5 separate regions of the Homo sapiens genome follow, and regions 1, 2, 3 and 5 are each linked to region 4. Evidence: promoter capture Hi-C in 16 types of primary human blood cells and fetal thymus (Javierre and others, 2016). All regions are on one chromosome and are shown on one strand. Each heading gives the region's core, a stretch centred on a gene start or on the middle of the fragment in contact. The rest is flanking DNA. Distances are from core to core; before and after follow the strand shown.

Region 1 (2,700 bases), core at 106-2,605, 540 kb after region 4:
AGGCGGGCGGATCACGAGGTCAAGAGATTGAGATCATCCTGGCTAACATGGTGAAACCCCGTCTCTACCAAAAATACAAAAAAAGTAGCCGGGCGTGGAGGCGGGCACCTGTAGTCCCAGCTACTCGGGAGGCTGAGGCAGGAGAATGGCGTGAACCCGGGAGGCGGAGCTTGCAGTGAGCCGAGATCGCGCCACAGCACTTCAGCCTGGGCGAAAGAGCGAAACTCCGCCTCAAAACAAAACAAAACAAAACAAAACAAAACAAAACAAAACAAAAAAACCAACAGAGCAACCAGTTGGCTCAAAAACTAAGGAGAGTACCTGAAGGGAGAGAGGAGACGACCATGTGCTCGCCTGTTGGAGAGTACAGCTGGACACCAAAAAGAACGGGTAGAAGAGTCAGTAAATGCGTGAAATCCAATGTGGCTTGCTGAAAAGATAGTGTGAAACCACTGGGGGTCACAGAAATTGAGGATATGATACCTCAACTTCCTGTAGGGTCTTCCTCCTCCAACTCCCCCACCCCACTCACTCAGAGCTCTAAAGAGTCCTGAGGTAGGCTCATTGTGATGCAAACCTGGGGGTGGGCAGCAGCTAAGCCTGAGAGGCTGGACACTACCCTCAGATCACTCTCCCCTATCTCCACTCAGGAAGACAAGCCTTCACTGTGACAGAAAGGACAATGGTTACTTCTACCCTTAAGACAATAGTGAAAAATCAGAGCAGCAGGGAGGAGGGGTGGGGGCCCAAGTCCTGGGAGAGGGGTAGGATTCCACATTGAGCCCAATACAACAGCCAGGGAAGGGGCAAGATCCTGAGAGTCAGGCCTGAAACTGAGGCTTAATCAAGAACAGAGACCACATCCTATCACCCCTCCCCACCTCCAAGCAAACAAACTTCCAGGAACAGTAAGAGCAGAATATCACTGAGAAAGGGACGGGAGAAAATCAAGAGTATGTAAAGAGACCCTCACTAAAGCACACTTCGAAGGGGAGACCTGAAATTTAGACTGGAACAGACACTGTTCTGGTAAACCAATTCCCACCCTGATCACAAAGTATCTCTAAGAGAATTTGAAAACTGGGGTACACTAGGTTAACCATAACAACACAAAAAAACTCAAATCCAGCCCAATGTAACAGTGAAAAGGAAGCCTAGCATGACTAACATCATTTTGCTTCTAAGCCCCCCCACCACCACCCAGTGAAACCATCTAACTATGGGAGAAATTCAGTTTATAGTTTAAAGCAAATAGTCCCTTCTGAAAACCCCTGAAGAGATAGGGGCAGTGTACACACAAGTAACAACGTTGTTAATGATTTTTTTTTTTGAGACAGGGTCTCACTCTGTCACCCAGGCTAGAGTGCAGTGGTGCAATCATGGCTCACTGCAGCCTCGACCTCCTGGGCTCAGGTGATCCTCCCACCTCAGCCTCCTGAGTAGCGGGACTACAGGTGTGTGCCACCACACCCAGCTAATTTTTGTATTTTTGATAGAGACGGTGTTTCACCATGTTGCCCAGGCTGGTCTTGAACTCCTAGACTCAAGTTATCTGCCTGACTCGGCTTCCCAAAGTGCTAGGATTACAGGAGTGAGCCACCATGCCCAGCCATGTTAAAGATTTATAGTATTGTGACCTGACCAAGGACAAAGAAGTTTCACAACCTCCACAGACCCTCACTGCCACCTAGATGTCTGTGGTCATCATAGTCATCTCTTGACCTCAACCTCCTCCCTCTTCCCTCTTCCTCTAACATAAAAGGAGGCGAAAATTCATATTAAGATGGTTCTTTCGGACATTACTAGTCCACCATCTTCTCAGGTTGCTGGCTCTCCAAATAAGGTTGCTTTCTTTGCGCCAACACCTTGTCTCTTAACTTATTGGCTGTCATTTGGTGAGTAGTACAACCTTGGACTTGGCTACACCAATTCCTAACTAGATTAACTCAAATACCAGCACTAACGGCCTAGCAGAAGGAAAGACATACCCATTTAAAGACACAAAGATTATATGGAGGCTGAAGTGGGTGGATCACCTGAGGTCAGGAGTTCGAGACCAGCCTGACCAACACAGTGAAACGCCGTCTCTACTAAAAATACAAAATTACCTAGGTGTGGTGGCACATGCCTGTAATCTCAGCTACTTGGGAGGCTGAGGCAGGAGAATTGCTTGAACCCGGGAGGCAGAGGTTGCAGTGAGCCAAGATAGTGCCATTGTGCTACAGTCTGGGCAACAAGAGCAAAACTCCGTCTAAAAAAACCCAAAACACACACAAAAAAATGATATGGCCAGGTGCAGTGGTTCACACCTACAATCCTACCACTTTGGGAGGCCAAGGCAAGAGGAGCCTGAAGATATGACTGAATTGCTGTGATCTCATGATAAAACATGAATGGACAAAGGAGTTGCTGCTTATGGAAGAACAAAGGAACTGTTTTTCTGAGATGAAATCTACTGGTAAAGATGCCTTAAACATTTTTGAAATGACTATTTCAAAAATACACTACTCTATAAACTTAGTTGATAAAGCAGCAGCAGGCTTGGAGAAATAGTTCTAATGTGGGTAAAACGCTATCAAACAGCATCGTATGCTACAGAAGAACCTACAATGAAAGGAACAGTCAACAGATATGGCAAACTTCATTGCTGTCCTATTTTAAGAAACTGCCACAGATCCCCCAACCTTCAGCAACCACCAT
Region 2 (2,700 bases), core at 168-2,667, 600 kb after region 4:
ACTCAATAAATGAAGAGATATACCATGTGCATGGACAGGAAAACTCAATATTATCAAGATGTCAGTTCTCCCCAATTTGATCTATAGATTCAACACAATCCTAATCAAATTCCCAGTCAGTTATTGTGTGGATATCAGCAAATTGCTTCTAAAGTTTATACGGAGGGGCAAAAGACCCAGAATAGCCACCACAATACTGAAGATCAGTGTTAGAGGACTGACACTACCTGACTTCAAGATCTACTAAAAAGCTACAGTAATCAAGACAGTGTGGTATTCGCATAAGAATAGACAAATAGATCAATGGAATGGAATAGAGAGCTCAGAAATTGACTCACACAAATATAGTCTACTCTTTTTTTTTTTTTTTTTTGAGACAGAGTCTCACTCTGTCGCCCAGGATGGAGTGCAGTGGTGTGATCTTGGCTCACTGCAACCTCCACCTCCCACGTTCAAGCAATTCTTGTGTCTCAGCCTCCCGAGTAGCTGGGATTACAGGCACGCACCACCACGCTCAGCTAATTTTTGTATTTTTAGTAGAGACAGGGTTTCCCCATGTTGGCCAGACTGGTCTTGAACTCCTTGACCTCAGGTGATCCACCCACCTTCACCTCCCAAAGTGCTGGGATTACAGATGGAGCCACCATGCCCGGCCCCCTAGGTTCTGACAAGTAGTCATCTTTACCTAAAACTCAGTTAACATGATTTGTTTTCATACTATTCATTCCTTTTGAAATTTTATTTAAAAAATTGATATATGATTCACCCCTGTAATCTCACATCTATAATCCCAGCACTTCGTGAGGCTGAGGCAGGTGGATCACCTGAGGTCAGGAGTTTGAGACCAGCCTGGCTAACATGGTGAAACCCCATCTCTACTAAAAATACAAAAATTAGCCTGGCGTGGTGGCAGCCACCTGTAATCCCAGCTACTTGGGAGGCCGAGGCAGGAGAATTGCTTGAACCCGAGAGGCAGAGGTTGCGGTGAGCTGAGATCTCGCCATTGCACTCTAGCCTGGGCAGTAGAGTGAGATTCTGTCTCAAAAAAAACAAAACAAAAAAACCACACAAAAACTTACAAAACATAACCTATGTACAAAAATGCATACTAAACATATGTACTTTTTATTTTAAAGGAAGAAACAATCTAATGTAAGTCACCTATGTCAACAAAACAGAATATTACAGAACTCCCCCACATGTAAGTAACCTCCTGGATCATGACTCTTAACCTCCTCCCCAGAGGTAACTCCTAACTCATAATAAATCCAGTTCTTGTTTTTCACATGTGTTTGTTTTTGTTTTACACTGAGGTGTGCATCCTGGATTTGAGTATTGTATGGATGGGATGGAGTCTTACCCTTTGGATTCGTTCTCTCTCTCTCTCCTTTTGCTGAACATTATGATTTTGAGGTATCATCCATGTCTCAATGTATAGTTGTGTATTTTCATTCTATAGAGTATTCATTCTATTGAACGAGTATGCCACAATTTAATTTGCGTTTTACTATAGATGGACTTCGGGTTTTCCATTTGGGGTTATTATAAATTATGCCGTTATGAAGTTTTTTTTGTTTTTTAGAGACAGGGTCTCGTTCTGTTGCCTAGGTGGGAGTGCAGTTGTGCTATCACAGCTCATTGTGGCCTCAACCTCCTGGGCTCAGGTGATCCTCCCTCAGCCTCCTGAGTAGCTCGGACTACAGGTATGTGACACCACACCCAGTTAATTTTTTGTATTTTTAAAATAGAGACAGAGTCTCCCTATGTTGCCCAGGCTGGTCTCGAACTCCTGGACTCAAGCGATCCACCCACCTTGGCCTCCCAAAGTGCTGGGATTACAGGCATGAGCCACTGCACCTGGAAAGATTCTTAAACACTTACCTTGATGTACAATGTGCATACACATGTTTCTCTGGGGCATAGACATAGGGTAGAACTGCCCACAGGCTATGCTCTCTTCAACTTTATTAGATAATGCCAAACTGAGCTCATATCCAGTTACTTGGGTGTGAGACTTCCAGGCAAAAAAGTTGTTTAAATTTTTTTTTTTTTTTTTTTAGAGACAGAGTGTTGCTCTGTCACTTAGGCTGGAATGCAGTGGCGCAATCTCAGCTTACTACAACCTCTGCCTCCCAGGTTCAAGCAATTCTCCTGCCTCAGCTTCCCAAGTAGCTGGGACTACAGGTGTGTGCCACCACACTCGGCTAATTTTTGTATTTTTTAGCAGAGATGGGGTTTCACTATATGCTGGCCAGGCTGGTCTCGAACTCCTGACCTCAGGTGATTTGCCTGCCTCAGCCTCCCAAAGTGCTGGGATTACAGGCATGAGCCACTGCACCTGGCCTAAAAAGTTGTTTAAAAAAGATAATGCCAAATTGTTTTCCAAAGTAGTTGTACTAATTTACACTCCCACCCGAGGCATATGACAGTTCCTATGCTCCACATTATCAGAACCTGATATTGTCAGTCTTTTCCCTACTTTGTAATACTGGAGCTGCACCTGCGCAACCTACATTTTGTGTTTTGGCAGCCGGCTCCATGTTATACTCTGCCAATAGGGGGCACTGAAGGACTTTTCTGCTTCCTGTTTGCTGCTTTGTTTCTCCTCACTGCTGGGACTCACTTGATGGGCGCAGTGTAGCACTGGCCCCGTGGCATTCCCTGTGCAGGCATCCGGTGAGTTTCCTCCTCACTGTGGTG
Region 3 (2,700 bases), core at 190-2,689, 580 kb after region 4:
TCTATGCAACCTCTCCTAAAGATTGTATGTTTACATCAACACACTTTTTAATTAAATTGTATATTTATTTACTTTTTTTTTTGAGACAGAGTCTTGCTCTGTCCCCTAGGCTGGAGTGCAGTGGCACAATCTCGGCTCACTGCAACCTCTGCCTCCCAGGTTCAAGCGATTGTATATTGATTTAAAGTTGTTTGTACGGAGGTGAGGGCTGAAGAGATTACTCGTGGCATCCAAGCCTCCCTCGCCCCAAGGCCTTTCTTTCCATGACCAAATCCACCTAAACCTCATCTGATTTTCTTTTCTTTTCCTTGAAACAGGGTCTCGCTCTGTCACCCAGGCTGGAGTGTAGTGGTGCAATCTTGACTCACTGTAATCTCCGCCTCCTGGGTTCCAGCAATTCTTGTGCCTCAGCCTCCCTAGTAGCTGGGATTACAGGCATGAGCCACCTATACCTGGCTACTTTTTATGCTTTTAGTAGAGACGGGGTTTCACCATGTTGCCCAGGCTGGTCTCAAATTCCTGAGCTCAAGTGATCCACCCCATCTCGGCCTCCCAAAGTACTGGGATTACAGGTGTGAGCCACCACACCCCGCCCTCATCTGATTTTCTTTGAGCTGTTGCCTGTTTCACTCTGTGACCTCATTTCTCAGCACTTCCCAGCTCTGACACCTGCTCAATCCTAAAACCAAGCAAATCTGTCTGCTGCCGCCTTTAGCCCACAACCAGCTGGCCTCTAGACCTGGGCCTCAGTGTACTTCATGTTCCCTCCCTCCTGCCTTCTCTCCATTTCCTCGTATGATGCAGTAGCCAGTGTATGCACTCACAGCTCTGTGCCCAAACAAGAACCACAGGCGCTCCTCCACTGTATTCATCTGCTCAGTCTGTTGCAACAAAGTGCCACAATCTGGGCAGTTTAATAACAGACATTTATTATCTCGAAGTTCTGGAGGCCAGAAGTGTGAGAACAAGGTGTCCGCAGGGTTGGCTCCTTCTGAGGGCTGTGAGAGCCTCTTCCTCAGCTTCTGGTGGTTTGCTGGCAATCCTTGGCATTACTTGGCTTGTAGATGCATCACTTTGTGTATTAGTCTGTTCTTGCGTTGCTATAAAGAACTACCTGAGGCTGGGTGTGGTGGCTCATGGCTGTAATCCCAGCACTTTGGGAGGCTGAGGTGGGTGGATCACTGGAGGCCAGGAGTTCAAGACCAGCCTGGCCAACATGGCAAAACCCTGTCTCTACTAAGAATACAAAAATTAGCCAGGCGTGGTGGTGCGCACCTGTAATCGCAGCTACTAGGGAGGCTGAGGCAAGAGAATCACTTGAACCCGGGAGGCAGAGGTTGCAGTGAGCGGAAATCGCACCACCGCACTCCAGTATGGGCGACAGAGTGACACTCTGTCTCAAAAACAAACAAAACAAAACAAAAAAAGAATGGGGGTGATGTTAAAAGTTCTAGAGCAGGAATTCTTACCCTGAGATCCAGGGTTTATTTCCAGAGGGAGCTATGGCTCACCCACATTACATGCAGAATGTGGATTGGTTGTGTGCACTCCTACGACTGTCTTAGGGGATGGTCCATGTTTTTCACCAGATTTTCAGAGGCCAGGACTCACAAGAGTTACAACCTCTGTTTGAGAGACTAAAAGGCTTGTGTCCAGCAGAAGCGACTGAACAGTGAACCCCAGGTCCCTCTCACACCCAAGCAGGACTCCAGCGGGCAGAGGGCTCTCGCGATCACCGCAGCTTTCCTTAGCAATGGGGCTCTCTGGCTCGGCTTTTCCTTCCCACTGTCACCACTTGTGCTTTCATTCCTGACCCCACTTCACTTAGCCTGCCCCCTCCCCTCATCCCTGAGGCCATCCTATGGTGCCTGATGAGGCCAGTTCCCCTGCATTCTAAACCGAATTTCTTGCTGTCTCCCTACCTCCATCCCCTGGCCTCAGCTGAAACCTGTGTCTGCCAGGACAGCAAGTCCCCAGGTCTCCAAATCTTCCCTGTATCAGCCATCAGAGGGGGTCATGGTGGGGCAAGGGTCTGATCCCTGAGCTGCTATGCACTTGGGCCTCCCCACTGGGGGTTTACTCGACCCAGCTAACCCCAGAGATGGGAGGTCAAGGATAGGGCCTTGGGAGGCTGGAATCAAAGGAGAGCAAGCCGGTTTCAGAGTAAGAGTGTCTGCAGTCGGACCCAGGATGCTGGTTGGAGCAATGTGGGTTATGATGACCCAGAGAGACAAATCTAGTCAGAGGCCACCTGAGACTCCACTGGAAAGACCAAATACAAACATGTGTTCCAAAGGCCGGAGACAAGATCAATATTTTTTTGCAAAGCTAAGAGTTAACACACAGAGGGAGACCAAACTCAGACAAAAAAACAGGACAGGGACAAATGAGAAGGATCCAGGACCATCATCCTGGTTGGACTCAGGCATCTGCTTGTATAAAGGCAGTACAGTGGTTAAGAGCATGGACTCTGGCACCGGACCGCTTACATTCAAATTCTGGCTCATCCGCTTCCCAGCTGTGTGACCTTGGGCAACTTACTTAAGTGCTGCCTTCCTCAGTTTACCCATCTACAAAATGGGGAATACTAATCACACTTACCTCTTGGGCTTGTTGAGAGAATTGAGTGGTTTAACACATGTGAAGGATTTAGAATGGTGCCTGGCACACCGTAAGTAAGTGTCAGCTGATATTATAAAG
Region 4 (2,700 bases), core at 200-2,699:
CCATTTTACAGATGAGAACACTTAAGTTCAAACATGTAAAACGGGATGCCAAAGGTCATACGACTTGTAAATGACAGAACTGACATTTGAACTCAAAATGAACTGACTCTAAGTCCTAAGCTCTTACTAAACCAATGGCTACAGAAATTCAGAAAATGGGGAAGGCTAATAGAGGAGCTGAGCTGGCCGTTAAGGGAAAGATAGGCTTCAGTTAGTCAAGGAGGAGGAAGAAGGGCCGAAGGGGTCAAGCATAGAGTAAATGCATGGAGACTGGAAAAGAGCTTGCGGAAATTGATTGCATTAGTCTAGCTGTCCAGTAAATTCCTATGTGGGCCAGATTTTGGTGGACAATGAATACCAGGCCGAAGATTGTGAACTGTAGGTTATCAGCAGCCACGAAACATTATAATGAATGCCAAGTTTCAAGCTGTAGACCCGTGGGAGATGAACTGCGAACCTGCCCGAGGAAGCGGCGCCCAAGTGGCTAGGGGCGGGGTCACAGGCGCCAGAGGTGTCGCTGGGGCACCTCTCCGGGCCTTCCCCCTTTTTCTTCCGGGCTGGGTCCCGCTACTCCAGTTCCGCTAGGCGGCGGAGACGGGGCCAGAGGTGGGACTACAATCTTGGCCCTCAGAGGGGTGCCCAGGCGGCCGCGGTAGGCGGCCCTCTTTCTCCGGCCTCGAGTGGGACTGGCACCCGTCTCGGGGGGCTCCACACTACCACGCAGGAAAGCCAACTCGTCCGCCGCCCGAAGCCGGGTTCCCCTAGACTCCCACGGGCCGCCTCCTTTTTCGTCCCCCCCGAGGCCGCGACTCTGAGGGTTCCGCTCTGCGGCGGAGGTGGGGCCAGGGGCGGGGATGTGGGCGGGGCCGTGAGGTCGTTCCAGGGCGCGGGGCGGGGCCGCCCCCTTACCTGTGCCCCTCAGGGTTCCAAACGTTCCACTCCGCGGCAGGGGCGGGGGCGAGTCCGGAGGGCGGGTCCAAGGCGCCCAGGTGGCCGCGGCAGAAGGGCCTGTTTCTCTGGCCTTGGCTGTGGTTGGCAGCCGGCCGGGGAGAGAAGGGACTCAGGGAGGCAACCTGGTTCCCGCCCGTTGCTGATTTCGCAGCGGCTCTCCCGGGCCGCCCCCTTTTCCTTCCTCCTCAGGCCGCGACTTGGAGGGTTCCGCTCCGCGGCGGGGGCAGAGCCAGGGGCGGGGCTGAGCGCGGCCTGGGCGATCTCCCCGGCGGCTGGGGTGGGCTGGCGTCTTCTTCGCGCCCGGGGGACCTCCTCGCGACCGCCGGGACGTAAAAGGGGCTTGGCAGGGGCGTCCTCGCCCCACTCCCGGAACCTGGTTTCCCGCTGCTCCCGCGAGCGTCGGGAGCCCAGCAGGCCTGGCCGAGGCGGGACCTTCGTCGCTCCAGCCCCCGTCCCCGCCCCCGCGCCTCCCCGCCGCGCGGAGCTCTGGTTGGCTTGCTTTCCAACCGGACTTTGGGGCTAGCGTTTAGAAAAGTCTCGACCTCCTCCGGCCCGGTCCCATCCCAAGAACCGACTAAGGCTGTGAGTGTCCGGGAACCAGACCCGCTTGGAGGCCACAGCCCCGACGTCCCGCGCCCACGCGGCAGATCGGGCGCTGCGGCCTGGGAGCCTCGGGGAGATGCGGAGCAGGAGCAATTCCGGGGTCCGCTTGGACGGGTACGCGCGGCTGGTGCAGCAAACCATCCTGTGTTACCAGGTAAGGAGGGACCGCCCCCAGGGAACGCGTGGAACTACCCTCTCATGTAACTCATTCTCCTTCCCAGGTCTGGCCCTCTTGTGACCTGAGACCTTGCAATTAAGAGTTTGCTATTTGAATCTAGTCCTTGCTAGCCAGTGATTACCACCCCATTGCCACCCCGTGCTCCTTAAGATTCAGGGGACCTAACTGTTGCTACGGCTACTTTTCACAGAATTCTTTGGCCATTGTTCAGGATGAGAATGAGCCGCCTCCGTGCCCGGGTCCAAACTGCCTCTTTTTGCATTGACTCTGCTTTTTTTGGACGAGAAGAGGTGTGGGGGGTTTGGACAGACTACACTGAATGAGAACAGTAGACAGGAGTGAAGAAGCTCCTGAAGTTTACGCAGGACTCTGCAGTGTGGGGCGACAGCTACCGTCCCTCCCATGAGCTGTCTTGGTAGAGACCCACCTGGGAAGCCCTTAGGGGCTACTTTGGTTGCTATTTTACAGATAAGAAAATTGTGAGGCTAGAAAGGTCACTGCATGTAGCAGGTCAGACCCAAAGGCTCCCAAGCTCACAGGGTCCTATGACACTGCCCATGTGGTCCGAGGTATGAATTTGCCTGCTATGCTTTGTATTCCTGGGCTAAAATTATGTGTGGGTCCATCAGTGTAAGACCACTGAACTATTTTTATTCCTAGTGAAGACAGCAGCTATGTTTCTTGCCCTCAATCAACAGCAACTATTTATAGGGCCTTCAAAGTCAACGAAGGAAGTGGCATTCAGGGGTTAGAGGCCTGACCTGCAAGTTGGGAGCCATGGTCATTTCCAAGGCACTGACCATTTTCCCTTCTTAACTAATTTCTTAGCCTTGTTTCCTCACTTAGGAAATATTTGTGGTGTATCTGTTATATGCAAAGCACTCTACAAAGTGCTGGGGTTACAAGAATAAATGATCGTAGTGCAGTAACATTTATGCATAAGGTATAGGTCCAAAGTCCCTTAATCT
Region 5 (2,700 bases), core at 81-2,580, 640 kb after region 4:
TCTTGTCACTCAGGCTGGGGTGCAATGGCACTATCTTGGCTCACTGCAACCTCCCCCTCCCAGATTCAAGCGATTCTCCTGTCTCAGCCTGCCAGGTAGCTGGGACTACAGGTGCCCGCCACCACACCCGGCTAATTTTTGTATTTTTGGTAGAGACGGGGTTTTACCATGTTGGCCAGTCTGGTCTCAAACTCTTGACCTCAGGTGATTCACCCGCCTCAGCCTCCCAAAGTGCTGGGATTACAAGCTTGAGCCACCGCACCCGGCTTGTTCTTTCTTAATATTGATTAGTCTTAATTCAGAGATAGAATTTTAGTTTTAAATGTAATTACAGTATTAGAATTTAGTGTTTTTCTGATTACTTTTATAACTATGTCAGAAAATGTGACATTTGATTATTTACTTGAGTGAATTGAATAGATACTTGTGGAATCTTAATGTGATGACTCATGTTCAATTCCACAAAATTATGTATGGTTATACAATGGAATATACACTTTTTCTATCCTGTATTAGGATAATCACTATTACCAGAAACAAAATCTTAGTTGAAAGAGAGAGCTTCTCTTGGTCAAAGAAAAAATACATAACTACAGTGTATTTTAATTAAATCAGTATTTTTTTTTGCATTTAGGCATAAATGTGAAGTACTTCTTGAAACAAAATAATAAACTATTTACAAGTTAAAAACATAAAGGTGTTATTTTATGCAGTTAACTCAGACCTTCCCCTTCACAATAAAGGACAGCGTTTTTGTTTGTTCAAGTCTAAAAGTAGTGTCTTTATAACAAGATAGATTTTAAAAGGAAAAGAACCCTTTCTACCTGTGCTATTTAATTAATCTCTGGTAAATTGTGTATGTATAATAACTTCCGTCACTTATTCCAACATTTTCTTTAAAACACCAGCAAACGTATTTGTGAATCTCTCTTATCCTTGAAACTTCTTATGCTGTTGATAAACTCAAGGGGCTATGATGAAACATTTTTTTCAATAGATTATTTTGTGAATAGGGACTTGGCTTGTTGTTTCTTTTTTTGGTGAATATTGGTTTAAAGCACATGTTTTAGTTATACCTGTTATGTAGTTGGCATTTATAAACTGAATTCTATAATGGTAACTCATACGGAGCCTGACTTTTTGAGACCATGAACATCCTAGAAAGAGATAAAATTCAGAGTAAAAAAAAAAGGCCAATCAACTTCTGGGAAAGAGAGAGATATTGGAGGTGGGGGATTGTCTCAGATCTCACAGAATTTTCTCCTTGGCCCATTGACTTAGACTTGTGTGTAAATTAAGACAGCTGATTTGATATTGCAGGAAAGAACAGAGAACAACAATGATGGCCAAAAGAAAAATCTCGGCCGAGCGCCGTGGCTTACGTGAGCCTGTAATCCCGGCACTTTGGGAGGCTGAGGCAGGAGGATCATTTGAGCTCAGGAGTTTGAGACCAGTATGGGCAACTTAGTGAGCCATCGTCTCTACTAAAATTAAAAAAAAAAAAAAAATTAGTTGCTGAGCTTGTTGGCACATGCCTATAGTCCCAGCTACTTTGTGTGTGTGTGTGTCGGGGGTAGGGGGTGTGCAGGGGGTGTGCTGAGGCAGGACAATCACTTAAGGCCGGGAGGTCAGGCTGCAGTGAGCCCTGATTATGCCACTGAACTCCAGCCTGGGCAACAGAGTGAGACCCTGTCTCAAAACAAAGAATAAAAGAAAAATTTTATCAAAAAATTGTTTTAGTCCATGTGTGGTGGCTTACACCTCTAATTCCAGCACTTTGAGAGGCTGAGGCAAGAGGATTCATTGAGCCCAGGAGTTTGAGACCAGCCTGGGCAACATGGAAAAACTCTGTCACTACAAAAAATACAAAAATTAGCCAGGTATGGTGGTGTGTGCCTGTAGTCCCAGCTACTAGGGAGGGTGAGGTGGGAGGATCACCTGAGCCCGGGGAGGTTGAGGTTGTAGCGAGCTATGATCACTCCACTGCACTCCAGCCTGGGTGACAGAGAGACCCTGTTTCAAAAAAAAAATTGTTTTTAAAAACCACAGTATTCTGGTTCTATATAGTTTAGATACAAGCAGCCTATAGCACAGCAGAGTTTACTCATTCAGCAAACATTTTGGGGACCCTAGTATGTGATAGACACTGTGCTCGTTATTCTGAAGGATATAAAGAAGAACGAGATGTGATACTGCCCCCAGGAGCTTATTGTCTAGCACGGGAGAAAAGGCACTTACACAGTTAAACACAACAAAGGCAGTTTTAGCACAATGGTTAAGCATTCATGAACCTAGATTCAAACCTAGCTGGGTGATCTTGGGCAGGTCTTTGAGCCTCAATATCCTTAACTTTCAAATGAACATTAATGGACATTAATAACAGTATCTACTATGCAGGCTTGTAATAAGCTTTAGATAAGAAAAAATACATATATAAAAGCCTTAGGGTAGGGTACCAGGCATTCATTAATAGCAAGAGCTCAGTAAGTAACAGATCTGAGTAGTAGTATCACCACTGCCAACACCATTATCATTGAATCTCTGGGAACATAACTTTTGTTTTCTCCTGCCCTCATGGATCCGTTTTGTCTAGGGTATCTGGTATATTATAATATCTCCTTGTATTAGTCTGTTTTCACGCTGCCGATAAAGACATACCTGAAACTGGGCAATTTATAAGAAAAAGAGGTTTAATGGACT

What was found. Contacts are between HindIII fragments. The CHiCAGO score rates a contact against its expected background, and 5 or more counts as called.
Region 1: a fragment that was not itself captured here is called in contact with the fragment with the promoter of PHKA2 in region 4 in 4 of 17 cell types (neutrophils, total CD8 T cells, total B cells and 1 more); the score reaches 6.1 in neutrophils.
Region 2: a fragment that was not itself captured here is called in contact with the fragment with the promoter of PHKA2 in region 4 in 1 of 17 cell types (naive CD8 T cells); the score reaches 5.1 in naive CD8 T cells.
Region 3: a contact is called between a fragment that was not itself captured here and the fragment with the promoter of PHKA2 in region 4, in 6 of 17 cell types (M1 macrophages, naive CD8 T cells, monocytes and 3 more). The highest score is 7.3, in M1 macrophages.
Region 5: a fragment that was not itself captured here is called in contact with the fragment with the promoter of PHKA2 in region 4 in 1 of 17 cell types (naive B cells); the score reaches 5.1 in naive B cells.

What each region holds. Positions count from the first base shown.
Region 1 is chrX:18,440,045-18,442,744 of GRCh38, reverse strand. All of the region lies in intron 1 of CDKL5 (cyclin dependent kinase like 5), which reads right to left. Among named protein-coding and RNA genes, the nearest start is that of CDKL5, 16 kb to the right of the region's middle. RefSeq lists enhancers at 1-166, 167-668. The HindIII fragment of the contact is 3,075 bases long and covers 1-2,700 here.
Region 2 is chrX:18,377,856-18,380,555 of GRCh38, reverse strand. No RefSeq gene overlaps it. Among named protein-coding and RNA genes, the nearest start is that of SCML2, 25 kb to the right of the region's middle. The HindIII fragment of the contact is 6,947 bases long and covers 1-2,700 here.
Region 3 is chrX:18,401,363-18,404,062 of GRCh38, reverse strand. No RefSeq gene overlaps it. Among named protein-coding and RNA genes, the nearest start is that of CDKL5, 23 kb to the left of the region's middle. The HindIII fragment of the contact is 3,599 bases long and covers 1-2,700 here.
Region 4 is chrX:18,982,863-18,985,562 of GRCh38, reverse strand. It overlaps PHKA2 (phosphorylase kinase regulatory subunit alpha 2), which reads left to right and starts at 1,449. Exons shown (of 33, transcript NM_000292.3): 1 at 1,449-1,708. The coding sequence starts at 1,631. RefSeq lists enhancers at 615-664, 646-1,146, 1,147-1,647 and a silencer at 765-1,454. The HindIII fragment of the contact is 8,902 bases long and covers 1-2,700 here.
Region 5 is chrX:18,344,731-18,347,430 of GRCh38, reverse strand. The region is part of intron 1 of SCML2 (Scm polycomb group protein like 2); the gene reads left to right. Among named protein-coding and RNA genes, the nearest start is that of SCML2, 8.6 kb to the left of the region's middle. The HindIII fragment of the contact is 2,162 bases long and covers 250-2,411 here.